Regions from separate parts of the Homo sapiens genome. Here all the other regions are linked to region 2. The links are contacts of gene promoters, found by promoter capture Hi-C in human tissues and cell types (Jung and others, 2019). All regions are on one chromosome and are shown on one strand. The core of a region is centred on a gene start or on the middle of the fragment in contact, and the rest is flanking DNA. Distances in the headings are between cores, read along the strand shown.

The links. Contacts are between HindIII fragments. The study calls those that stand out against the background at their distance.
Region 1: a fragment that was not itself captured here is called in contact with the fragment with the promoter of FRRS1L in region 2 in 2 of the 25 tissues and cell types used here (dorsolateral prefrontal cortex and pancreas).
Region 3: a fragment that was not itself captured here is called in contact with the fragment with the promoter of FRRS1L in region 2 in 2 of the 25 tissues and cell types used here (heart left ventricle and mesendoderm cells).

Annotation. Positions count from the first base shown.
Region 1 is chr9:109,424,159-109,428,543 of GRCh38, forward strand. It overlaps PTPN3 (protein tyrosine phosphatase non-receptor type 3), which reads right to left. Exons shown (of 26, transcript NM_002829.4): 12 at 2,792-2,964. Among named protein-coding and RNA genes, the nearest start is that of PTPN3, 72 kb to the right of the region's middle. The HindIII fragment of the contact is 7,498 bases long and covers 1-4,385 here.
Region 2 is chr9:109,164,776-109,169,098 of GRCh38, forward strand. FRRS1L (ferric chelate reductase 1 like) reads right to left here and starts at 2,474. Exons shown (of 5, transcript NM_014334.4): 1 at 2,126-2,474. The coding sequence starts at 2,363. The HindIII fragment of the contact is 7,141 bases long and covers 1-3,480 here.
Region 3 is chr9:108,884,422-108,888,873 of GRCh38, forward strand. All of the region lies in intron 29 of ELP1 (elongator acetyltransferase complex subunit 1), which reads right to left. Among named protein-coding and RNA genes, the nearest start is that of ACTL7A, 24 kb to the left of the region's middle. The HindIII fragment of the contact is 6,266 bases long and covers 1-4,452 here.

The sequences.
Region 1 (4,385 bases), core at 24-2,523, 260 kb after region 2:
TGTTCCATTGTCCCATAAGCTTGGAAAATAACCCAACAAATTTCTTTTTATGTGGAACCTTTCAGAAGGCCCAATAAGCAGATGTGTATCTGTATCTCTAGGGGCTGGGCAAGTCATGTGACCCTTCTAAGCCTCAGTGTCCTCATCTGTAAAATGGAGGTAATGAGACTTGAAATTCACCAGTATGCTGAAGCTGGCACAGGTAGTAAAAGAACTGCTGACTTGTCCTCCCAAGCCATCCTCCCAACCCAAATGATCCCCTGTGGCAGATTAAAGATGACTGCAAGTTCTTTGAGTCTTGCATCTGGGTTGGCTTGTGACTGCTTTCAGCAACAGAGTCGCTGTGCCAGTGCCAGGTCTCACCCTTAAGAAGGCTGAACGGTTCTGCCTTTCGCTCCTGGAACCCTGAGTGTCCATGTAAGAAATTCAACCACCCTCCTGGAGTATCCAGATGGGGATGCTAAGGAGTCCAGGTGAGTCCAGCCTTCCAACCATTCCATCAAGACACCAGGTATGCAAGAGAAGTTATCTTGGATCCTCTGGCCACATTCACTGAGAAATCCCTATCTACACCACACAGAGCAGAAGAGGCCTCTGGCCAAGCCCTTCTAGGATTCCTGACTCACAAAGTCATGAGATATAACAGAATGGGTGTTGCTTTCAGTCACCAAAATAGGGGTATTTTCTTGTGCCACAATACAAGACCAGAACCCAGCCCTGCTGGCATTGGATGCATGCAGATGACAAAGCTTTGCAGATGAAGAAATAGAAGCAACAAATTAAAGCTCAAGTGACAGAGGCAGGATTTGAACCCAGGCAGCTCAGCAACAGAGGGCATGGTTTCAGTTGCCTCCCCATTCCTTCTCTCATCTGGCCTGAGGATCAGGCCCAACCTAAGTCAATGATATAATCCAGTAAGTTATTTTCATGGCTTGCTCAACAGTAGATCTACTGAATGTATACAAATACTAAACAGTATTATAAGAGCTAAAAACTTAATATATTCACTCTTGGTTCATCAGAAGCTGAGAGATAGCATTTAGCACCACAAATAGTATCACTGATACTAACAGAAATTAGCTACTTATTCAGTTTACAAGTTCCCTAATGATTATCAATGTATTAGGAAAGTAACTGGAACAGTCTGATGCAGTTCCACCTATCAGAAAGATAATGGCTCAGACACGGGTCTCATTTAGTTAGTAATAGCCACATCAACAACAAATCACGAAAACAATTTTGAAAAACCAACAAATGATTTAGAAAATATGGCCTGGCACGGTGGCTCATGCCTGTAACCCCAACACTTTGGGAGGCCGAGGCAGGCAGATCACCTGAGGTCAGGAGTTCGAGAGCAGCCTGCCCAATGTGGTGAAACCCTGTCTCTACTAAAAATGCAAAAATCAGCTGGGCGTGGTGGTGGGCACCTGTAATCCCAGCTACTTGGGAGGCTGAGGTAGGAGAATTACTTGAACCCAGGAGACAGAGGTTGCAGTGAGCCGAGATCACTCTAGCCTGGGCGACAGAGTGAGACTTCGTCTCAAAACAAAACAAAACAAAAAAGAGAGAATAGGCTGGGCACGGTGGCTCATGCCTGTAATCCCAGAACTTTGGGAGGCCAAGGTGGGTGGATCACCTGAGGTCAGGAATTCGAGACCAGGCTGGCCAACCATGGTGAAACCCTGTCTCTACTAAAAATACAAAAATTAGCCAGGCGTGGTGGTGTGCTCCTGTAATCCTAGCTACTCGGGAGGCTGAGGCAAGAGAATCGATTGAACCTGGGAGGCGGAGGTTGCAGTGAGCCAAGATGGCACCACTACACTCCAGGCTGGGTGACAGAGTAAGACTCCATCTCAAAAAAAAAAAAAAAAGAAAAGAAAGAAAGAAAAAAGAAATTATAAGAATAAATTGACAATTTATGCTACCTCTTATACTTAGAGGGTAGTCTTAGAACAAAGAAAACAAAAATACAAACTGCATGGTTATTTCATTTAGAGAATAAATTTATCTTAATTAGAATTTTAAAATGTATATACGAATTATATATATCAATGTACATCCATTTCTTTTACTGTACATCATTTTATTTAGAGAATAAATTTTAATCTAAATTAGAATTTAAAAATTTATATATTATATATATTTATACATAAATATATATAAATTTACATCCATTTCTTTTCCTGTACTAGTCATTAAATATTTTGAATATCATTCCTGTGGCTAATAGTACCTATCTCATAGGAGAGTTGTAAGAGTCAAATATAATTATGTGCCCAGCACAAAGTAAATGCTCAGTAATTATCAACTGTGATTACTACTGTTATTTTGTAATTATTATAGGCAATATATCCCAAAGTCACTTGACTCTGGAAATGTTTTTCTATTCCTTCATTCATTTTTATAGAGCATCTTATGGAATTAAAGTTCTGTGGGAGAGGCTGGCATAGTGGCATCAGACTGGGATAGCCCAGTATGCTGGCACCAGGAGACACACAGAACCATGGCTCCATTTCCTTTATTATGTCATGGTGCAGGGTACAGCTGCCATTCTGACTGCTTGGAAGTGCTGAGTTCAGCAGAGTTGAGGGGAGAGAAATGCTGGGAACATGAGATATCCCTTAGACACTGCTGACCCCGGGAGACTTTTAGTTATGGTTCAGAGATCCAATGCCTGGAGCCCCTGGGCTATGGGTTTCCTCCTCTGCCTAACAATGTCCTCTATTCACTGATGACCAGGATGCATTTACATCTCAGCCTAGTGTGGACACAGTCTTTACAGCACACTCACTTTTTGGTGTTCCGAGAGCCCATAGTCCAGTACTGAGACAGAACATTCTTTTCCTGAGGTAGTAGCTTCTTTGCCTGAAAGAACGTATGGTGCTCAACACAGGATTTCCACAAGTTTTTGCAAGATCGGTAATTCAGCATGTTGAAGGCCACAATATGTTCCCTGGATTCAGCCTGGGAGGAAAAACAGTCAAGATTTCACCCACACAGACATAGGAGCAGGGACTTGTAAGCATTTAACCCACATTGGTGAAATGAGGTAAGATGCAACAGACAGCAGAAAACTGGTTTCAAAATGCCGTGGCCACAAACCAGTGTACCGGAATATTCAAGAGCACGATTTGTTAACCGTCTTTATGAACATGGTAATAGAGATGACCAGAATCTATTCTTTATCATCATCTGCGCTTCTTCATGAATGCTTTTATTTCAAATCTATTTACATTTCTAGGCTGGATACATTTGGAGCAATCAGATAAAAACCGTCTGATACACTCCTTTTAAATTTTAACTCTGGGAACATCTCTCTCCTGAAGGAATACTCTTTCATCTATCAGACAACAGCAAGTTTATAACCCTTTGGGTTTTTCTCTATTTGCTTTCCACAAAGCACAGAGTTGAATCCAGTGCTCATATGTAATAATCATTTTAATCATTTGCTTTGCCTGCATTCTGCATGAGTTTAGGTTTTCTGTTTTCATGTTAAATTGCCGTCTTATACATTTTTGTGCCACCCTGAATCTTGCACTGAGGGGTCAGGAGATCCAGATTCCAGTCCTAGCTGCTCTGAGCTTTTGTGTCCTCATTCCTAAGAGTTCACGGCTCTGTGAGGCCATTTTAAGCATATATTACCTTTGAAAAATTGGGAAATTGACACAGTGACAGTAAGTGAAAATCATGCAGCATAAAAAGATAAGGGTGTAGTGCTGTGGAAAGAGCAGGTGTCTCGGATTCGTAATGATCTGGTTAAAATTCCAGCTCCCCTGACTCACTAGCTGTGGGAGCCTCAGTTTCCTCTCCTCTAAGTTCTACATCTCTGTATGGATGAGCAAATGGAGTTATCACAGTGCTATGGACTTTGCTTATGAGATATATACACCTACCAAGCCATCGTGCAGTTTCAACACATCATGGGAGGGAACTGACCTTGCTGACATTCACTGTTACTTTGTGGTGGGCTCTCTGCCAAGTGCTTTGACCAATCCTCTTTTATTTAATCTTCACAATTCCCTAAGAAGTGGGCATTATAGAATTTCTGGAAACAAGGTAACTTGGGCTAGGGAACGTTAAGTAACCTGGCTAGCTGGTAAGTGGAAGAGCCAGGATCTGAAACCACTGTCTCTGACTCCAAAGCAAGTTAATCCTCCAACCAGCTAAGCAGAATTATACAGACAATCACTGGATCCTCCAGACTCTGGCTCCACAATGGCATGCTCTTTCTTCCCTGATACATACATAGCAAACAGCCTTCAACCCTTAAAGAACTAAAAGCTGAAGTAACTTAAAAACACAAGAAATGGGGCAAAGTGGTGCATGTTTCTAGTCCCAGCTACTTGGGAGGCTGAGGCAGGAGGATCCCCTGAGCTCAGTTTGGG
Region 2 (4,323 bases), core at 1,224-3,723:
GTGGGGGCGCGAAGCAGACACACTAGGGATCGGTACAAAGCCCTGCTGCCTGCTATGTGATCACCTCACCTAAATGCCTTCCCTCTTCTGTGTCACTGAAGTCTTTCCTACTTCATGGCTTGACTCTATAAAAGCTGTCCTTGATGGCTGTGGCCCACCTGATGTCCACATTCATAAAACTTTCTGGACTATACAATGAACATATCATTCTCTCTGCAGAGAGACTCAAAGGACGTACAGAATCTGAGCTTATCCTTCATTTGTTAGATGCATGAGCCCAATCAGAATACAAGTTCTCACATACCACATTTAAGTCACCTGGCAGCACTAGGCTGTGTACAGTGTAAAGATACATTAGATGCTTTCAGAAACAGACGGGCTTCGGAATATTTATTCTTTTCCAGAGTGACAGATTCCGCCACATGGCTCTCCAGCTAGAAGACTACATTTCTTAGTCTCCCTTGAAGCTAGGTCATTGTAACTATGTTTTTGCCAAAGGAATGTGAACAGCAGTAATGTGGGCAGCCAGCCTAAAAGGTAACTACTTGCCCTGAACTTCTCTTTTTCTTTCCCTCAATCTTGAACAAGGACATGCAACCTGGCTTCTACTGTACTGATGAGGACAAAGCCTCAGGGGGATGGCAGAGCAACAAGATGGAAAGAACCCGGGTCCCTGAATGACCTTGCGGAACAGAGTCATCCCACCAGCCCCAGACCAACCAGACTCTTATCAGAGAGAAAAATAAACTAGCTTATTTAAACCACTATATGTTAAAATCTCTAATTCAGCAGTTAAGCCTCTACTTAATACATTTCCCCAAATCCATTCTCTCCATCTTCTTTAATACAATAATTCTGATTTTTGAACTGGGCATATTATGTCTCAGCTAATAGGCTCTATTTTACATCCTCCTTTGTACCTATGTGCAACCATATGATTAAGTTGTGGCCAAAGAAGTATAAAAATTGTTATATGAAACTTCCGAGTAATCCCTTTATAAAGTAGTCAGTGACCTTCTTCCTGCTTCATTTTTCCCACTGTCTAGAATGTGAACATAATGGCTGTAGCTCAAGCAGTTATTTTGAACCATGAAGTTACATGCTAAGAATTGTGAAGAAACAGAAGGGCAGGATCCAGAGACACTGGTGACCAAGGAGCCTCCAGACCAGTTCTGGATTACCTATTTCTAGTTTTCTTTCTGTAAGAGAGAAACTTCTATCTTGTTGAAGCTATTAATGTTTGCTTGTTGTATACAGCTGAACTTAATCCTAACAACAGACACATCCACTAACAGATATGAGCTCCTGGGACTCAACACTTCAAACCCCAGCTTGATGGTTGGATATCCCTCTTAGCAGAAGAAAAGGAAAGTCACTACTTCCCAAAGTTGCTTAAAGAGGCCAGTTTCCATTCCTTCTGACCACCATCCGCTTGGCTTTTGTGCTCGTTGAAGCAGCTCTACAGGGAGGCCCTTGGCTGACAAACTCCCAGTCTGCGGGCCCAGCAGGCCACAACAATGGTGGCTCGCACTAGGGGACCATAACATATGTGGCGTCATAAAAGAGGAGGGATGGGAGTGGGGAGGCTGATGTGACCCAGCTCTGACGGGTCAGTGAGCAGGAACAGAATGCTACGAGGTGGGCGCTGGTCACTGCAAATTTAAGTCAATACAGACAGGGAGGAAATAAGGCAACCTCTCTCTTTAGGTTGGGGTTTTTCTGCTTCCCCCTAGCTGCCCTGGCCAGATGGCGGCCTCCTCCCCTATAACCCAACCCCAGGCGGCAAAGGTGGAAGCCAGATCTAAGAACTGGGGGAGCTTAGACTCAGCACCCACCCCTATCCACAGCCTTGCAGAACTTGGATGACCCCTCCCTCTCCCAGCCTCACTCTCCCCATCTGTAAAGCGGGCGGCAGGCATTGACAGCTCTTTGGGCCTTTCCTCCAGGCCGGCGGAGGCCTGGGCACTGCGCTCCCCATCCTGGCCTCGCCTCTGCAAGAGCTGCCTCCACGGACATCTTTTCCGACCCCCTCCCCCTCCCTCGCCCCCTCTCCTCGTTCCCCCGATCCTCGGTCCCCCACCCCCGGTCTCCCCTCCCGCAACCCCTCGCCCTCCCGCAGCCTCACCCTCCTCCGACAGGTAGCGCAGGTCGTAGAACTCCCCCGCGAAGGTGCCGTAGGAGGAGTCGTGGCGCGGCACCGCCTCGTCGGCGCCCGTGTCCCCCCGCGCGCGTCCCCGGGGTCCCCGGCCCCCCGGGCCCGCACCGTCGTCCGCGGGGCTGGCTGCGCAGGCGGCGGGCCCCGTCAGTAGCAGCAGGAGCAGCGACGCCCAGACCCCCGGGTGCTGCCGGGGCGGCCGCGCCATCCGTGCGCACAGATCCCGCAGCCAGGCCGCTCGGGCCGCAGCGGGGGCGCCGCGGGCGCGGGCCGGGACTGAGCCTCCGCCGAGGCCACCAGCACGCGCCCGCGCAGCCGCGGAGCCTCCCGCACCCCCGCCTCCCTGCCTCGGTCTGCGCATCCTCGCTCCAGCACCGCAGCCTCCCCCTTCTTCTTGGAACCCCCCTCCTCCCCGCACCGATCTCTCCTTCCTAGCAGCTTCCCTTCTACCGTCCTTCTTTCCATTCTCCCCATCTCCCCGACTTCCCTCCACGCAGGCAGATTTGGCCCTTCTGGCCCCTTGCTACTCCGGAGTGTGGTCCGCGGACCGGCAGCATCAGCATCACCTGGAAGCTTGTTAGCATCGCTGAGGCCCCACTCCAGACCCATGAAGCGGGATGTTCATTTCATCAAAATTCCCAGGAGATCCCAATGCACGTTCAATTTATGAAACGCTCCTCTAGAGAGTTTACCCTGGACACACCTGGTCAGTGCTGCCTCCTCAACCTTGTGCCGGCACTTTTTGGTTTACATAAAGCACTTGCTAGACCTATTATTTCTTGGATCATCACAGAAGGAACTTGAAATTGCAAGACCCCCACAATAGAGCTAGGTAAACTGAGGTGTTTAGAGACAGAGAAAACTGGATTCACCTGCTTCCTCTCCAGGCTCTTGCGGTGTGTAATCAACAGAGGCTGGTGCCAGTAGGTAACCTGTTCCCCTTCAAAACTAGGCTTCTGGTTTACTCTCTTTCCCTGCAGCAAGCACGCGCAGGCCTTGGAAGGCCCACACCGTATCTGAGGGCCATGCTGAATTGTTGATTTTTCTCAAATCCATTCCTGCTGCTTGCAGTTCACTTTTGGCTATTTACTCAGCCATCCATTGATTCACACCAAGCATTTGCTTTATGGCAGGTCCCAGGGTTCTCTTTTGATGATGGTTGTTGGGGTGATATATTCGAATTGCTAAGCTGTTTTCCATCAGAGAGGCGGACGCAATTCCTTTCAGGCTGGTGTTGCAGAGCCAGCATTTTAACCTGCTTTTCCTATTTTATTATTTTATTTTATTGCATAAACAAAATAATTATGGAGGCAGAAAAGCATAGAGGTCCCAAATGCAGACCTAGAAGTCAGACTGCCTGATCTCTCATGATTAGTCATTGACATGATGCAATGAAGATTAGGGAAGATCATAGAGGTAAGGATCAATAGGGTTCAGTGCTGTAAGTGGCATGCACACATGTACACAATATTGTGAAATGTTAATATTCAAAAGGAAACTAGTGATCTTAACCCTTTATGGCCTGATTGGCTGAGAGATAAGGGTAGTGCTGTTGAAACAGGGGAGACATGATGGGGGACTTAGAAGTCAGGTATTTTCTATTAGGTATCAGCTAACAGTGGGCTGTCCAACTGGAATTTAAACATATTAATCCTGATGGCTGAATTGAGGTGTAATTCATGAAAACCTTGGGCTTCACTAGGTCCCCCAACATAGCAGTTGTCACAAAAAATAGATCAGATTATTTGAAAAAGGTAAGATGAACTATGATTACTTTAAAAACTCAAGAGACTTCTTCCCAAAAAGCATAGCGTGGCAATGCATAACATTCTAAAAAAGCTGATCCAACAGATTGAAAATCTGTTAAAGTGTAGTCCTTCAAAAAAAAAAAAAAAAACAAAAACAAAAACAAAAACCTTAAACCTTTCTTAAAAATTAAAATTTCTTTATTTTCTTTTCTTCTCTTTCTGTTCACCAGGGAAGGTATGGTCAACTTAGAATGGACCAAAGTTTAGCCAAAAAAATAAAGCATTAGACTTTTGATTTCAGTGTAGATTCTCTGGTTTGGGAATACAAGCTTTTACCTCTTACTTTCCTTTTTATTCCCTTCATTTTGGTTACTGAAATTAACAATAACGGTGCCCAAATAGAAGGCAAATGAAAACCAG
Region 3 (4,452 bases), core at 1,291-3,790, 280 kb before region 2:
ACTCCATCCAATAATAGTAGCTTTCATATTATTTTCAAATACACACACAACATTCTGTAAAACAGACCATATTATAAATTAAAATAAATTATAAATTTAAATTAATAAAATGTATGTTCTCTAATCACAACAAAATTAAAGTAGAAATTAATAACAAAAAGATGGCTGGCAAATCTCCAATATCTGCAAGTTAAACATACTTCTAAATAAGCCAAGGTTCAATAAAGAAATCACAAGGGAAATTAGGAAATGAAAACAAAACATTTCAAAATTTGTATAACATAACTAAAACGGTGCTTGAGGAAAATTATGGCATTATATGCTTAAACTATAAAGTAAGGAATCATCTCAAATCAATAGCTTTAAGCCATCACCTTGGTCAGGCACAGTGGCTTACACATGGAATCCCAGCACTTTGGGAGGCAGAGGTGGAGGGATCACTTGAGGCCAGGAGTTTCAGACCAGCGTGGGCAACTAGTAACACCCCATCTCTACAAAAAAAATTAAAAATTAGCCAGGCATGGTGGCATGCACCTGTAATCCCAACTACTCTGGAGGCTGAGGGGGGAGGACAGCTTGAATGTAGGAGTTTGAGACTGCAGTGAACCATGATCGTGCCACTGCACTCCAGCCTGAGCAAGAGTGGGACCCTGTTTCTTTAAAAAAACAACAACAACAAAAGAAAAAAATAAGAAAAAAATAAAAGTAAGCCATCACCTTAAGAAACTAGAAAAATAAAGAGCAAATAAAATAATAAAATAATAAAAAAAGAATGATATAGAATACAGAAAAATCATAGAGAAAAACAATGAAACAGTTCATTCTTTAATAAGATCAATAAAATTGATAAACCTCTGGCCAGAATAATCAGAAAAAAGAAGACACATCAATATCTAGAATGAAAGACAGGACATCACCATAGACCCTACGGACAGTAAAATAAGAGAATACTATAAACACTTCATACCAATAAATCTGACAATTTAGATGAAATGAACAAATTACTTGAAAGACATAAACTACCAATGCTCATTCCAGAAGACACAGATAAACTTGAATAGGCTAATGTCTACTAAAGTAACTGAACTAATAGTGGAAAAGCTTTCATTAAAGAAAACTCCTGGCCGAGATGGCCTTACTGGTATATTCTACTAAACATTTAAAGAAAAAAATATCTCCCAAGAGCTGGGAGAAAGAGCTGAGCTGTCAGGTGTTGGAGTAGCTGATCAAAGCAACAAGTCAAAAATGAATTAAGCCTTCAGGCATTGCATTGGTATAAGCAAGAGGCTAAAACCAGGGAAAGCACCAACTCTCTCTGTTCCATTTTTTCCCAAGGAACAACTCACTAGTCAAGAGTCAGCTGGATCCACACAGACATGAGGGTTGGTTCACTGTTGAAGGAGCTTGGAAAAAAAGGCTTTAGCAGTTTGATGGATCTTGGGGGTATGGGTGCAAAGGAAGGGGGCTAAGGGTGGAAAAGTACTGGGTAGTGAGTCACAGTGGAAAAAAATGTCAAGGTTTTTCCACTCCTTCTTGCATAAACAGGCCTTGGCAGAGGTGCCTGAAGAAGACCTTGGCCCATGGCCTCAGATAGAGAGACCTAAGAATGAAAGTGCCAGGACTCTCAATGCAAATACTGTTACAAGAGCATGACTAACAGGGGGCCCTGAGTCCTTGACTGCAACTCCCTTTAGAAACTGTAATGCATTGGCAGTACGCCAAGTCTGGTGTAGGGAGGGCAGCTTTTCCCCATGTGGCCTCCTAGGTAAAGTCTGTAATTGTTTATGGTCAGGTCTGAAACATCACACATAGGTTTTTAACCATAAGCTAGACTCTCATACCAATTCTACATGAAATCCTCCAGAAAACAGAAGTGTAAAGGACACCACCCCTCATTTTTGTCACCCCTCAATGACAGCAGCATTATCCTGATACCCAAAACATGGCAAAGACACGAAAAAACTACAATATCCCTCATGAACACAAACACAAAAATCCTCAAGAAAATTTTAGTAGATCTAATCTGCCACAAGAGAAAAAGGGTAATAAATCTATAATACCAAGTGGGGTTGAACCCAGAGATGCAAGGTTGGTTTAACAGTAGAAAATCAATCACCTAGTCCCCCATATCACTCGTCTAAAAACAAAACCCTTCATAGTTGAAAATGCATTTGACAAAATTTAACACCCATTCATGATACAAACTCTCAGAACAAGGAACAGAAGGGAATTTCCTCAAACCAAGAGGGCAGGAATTGGCAAATTTTTCCTGTAAAAGATTAGACAGTAAATATAGGCCTTATGGGCCAAACTATCTGTGTCACAACTCTAACTCTGCTGCTGTAGTGTTAAAGCAGCCATACACAAGATGTAAACTAATGAGCATGGCTATGCTCCAATAAAGCTTTATTTACAAAAACAGGTGGCATGCTGGATTTGTCACAGGTTGTAGTTTGCCAACTCTGCAATAGAGAGCATTAAAAAAAAAAAAAAAAGCAAATATCAGGCCAGGCACGGAGGCTCATGCCTGTAATCCCAGCACTTTGGGAGGCTGAGACAGGCGAATTGCTTGAATCCAACAGTTCAAGACCAGCCTGGGCAACATGGCAAAACCCCATCCCTACAAAAAATACAAAAATTAGCCAGGCATGGTGGCATGTTCCTGCAGTCCCAGCTACTCAGGAGGCTGAGGTGGGAGGATCGCTTGAGCCTAGGAGGTCAAGGTTGTAGTGAGCTGAGATCACACCACTGCACTCCAGCCTGGGTGACAGAGCAAGACTCTGTCTCAAAAATAAAATAATATAGAATAAAATTTTAAAAAAGCAAACATGACACTTAATGCTAAAAGACAAGTGAATTTTCTCCAATATCAGGAAAAAGGCAAGGATGTTCACTCTTAACACTTCTATTCAACACCACACTGGAAGCCCTAGAAAATGCAATACAGATAGAAAAAAGTATTGATTGTAAGAAAGACATAAAACTATATTTATAGAAACCATGTTTGTTGATGTAGAAAATCCTAGAGAATACACCCAAGAGCTTCTAGAACTAATAAATGAGTTTAGCAAGGTTGCAGGATACAAGGTCAATTATACAGCCTCCCTGCAAAACACTTCAGCTATATTTCTATATACTAGTAATAAAACATTAGAAAATGAAATTAAAAACTAGTCAAGCCTTGAGATGACTCTAGCCCTGGCCAATACCTTAATTGCAGCCTTGTAAAGGACCCTGAGCCAGAGGCCCCAGCTAAGCCCAGCCAAGATTCTTGGCCCATTGAAAAAGTGGGATAATAGGGTCTGTTGTTTTAAGCTGCCAGCTTTTAAGGTAAGTTGTTACGTAGCAATAGATAATACATCTAGTGTCACAGTAATACACCCAGTGTTGGTGAGTATAGGAGTCACTGAAGCACTCTCACATATCACTGAGGGGAATGCAAAATGATACGGCCACTGCAGATTAGTTCTGCAGCTTCCTAAAAAGTTAAACATCCACTTACCACGGGATGTGGCATTCCTACTCCTGTCCCCATAAAGACCTGCACTAGAATGTTCATGGCTGCGTTATTCATAATAACCCCAAACTGAAAACAATCCAAATGTACATCAACTGGTAAATCAACAAATTCTGACATATACATATAATGGGATACTATTCAGCAATACAAAGGAATAAACTACAACATGGATGCATCTCCAATGCACTATGTGAGTGAAAGGAGCCAGATTAAAAAGACTACATACCATATGGTTCTGTTTATATGAAATTCTAGATAATGTGAAACTTTACTGACTGATCAGTTTGCCAAAGGCTGGCAGTGGAGGGAGAAGGCTGACTGCAAAAGGGGAAGTAGGGAACTTTTGGGGGTGTTAGAAATGTTCTAGATCATGAGTGCAATGGTGGTTACACAGCTACAAACATATGTCCAAATGTACTGAATTCTTCATCTAAAATTGGTGAATTAGCTTTATTATATGTAAATTATACAACTGTACAACACATAATTTTATTGTATGTAAATTACACAAAATAATTTTATGCATTAATCTTCCTTTACAAAGAAAAAAAGATAATGACATCTTATCCATTTAATTAACCCTCGATGTGGTATATCTTTCCAACCCAACCTATCTACCCTTTTAGGTATGTTTCATTCACTGGTATTTTCAATTCAATCACCCAACAAATATTCTCTCCAGGATCTAATTATATAAAATTTTAGTTATCGTCTTTCACTTACTGTTATTACACAAGAGACAATTAAATATTTTTAAAGCACAATTAAGTTACATAAATGTGCTATCAGTAACAACTGTAAAAAACACTCTCTCATCAAAGGTCAAAACTCTACAAGGCAATAATCCCTGGTGTCAACTGTGCACCTGTGTACTGTTAGTCTGTGGCCAGTGTTACTGCAGTTTTATTATTTTCATAATAAATCCTATAATA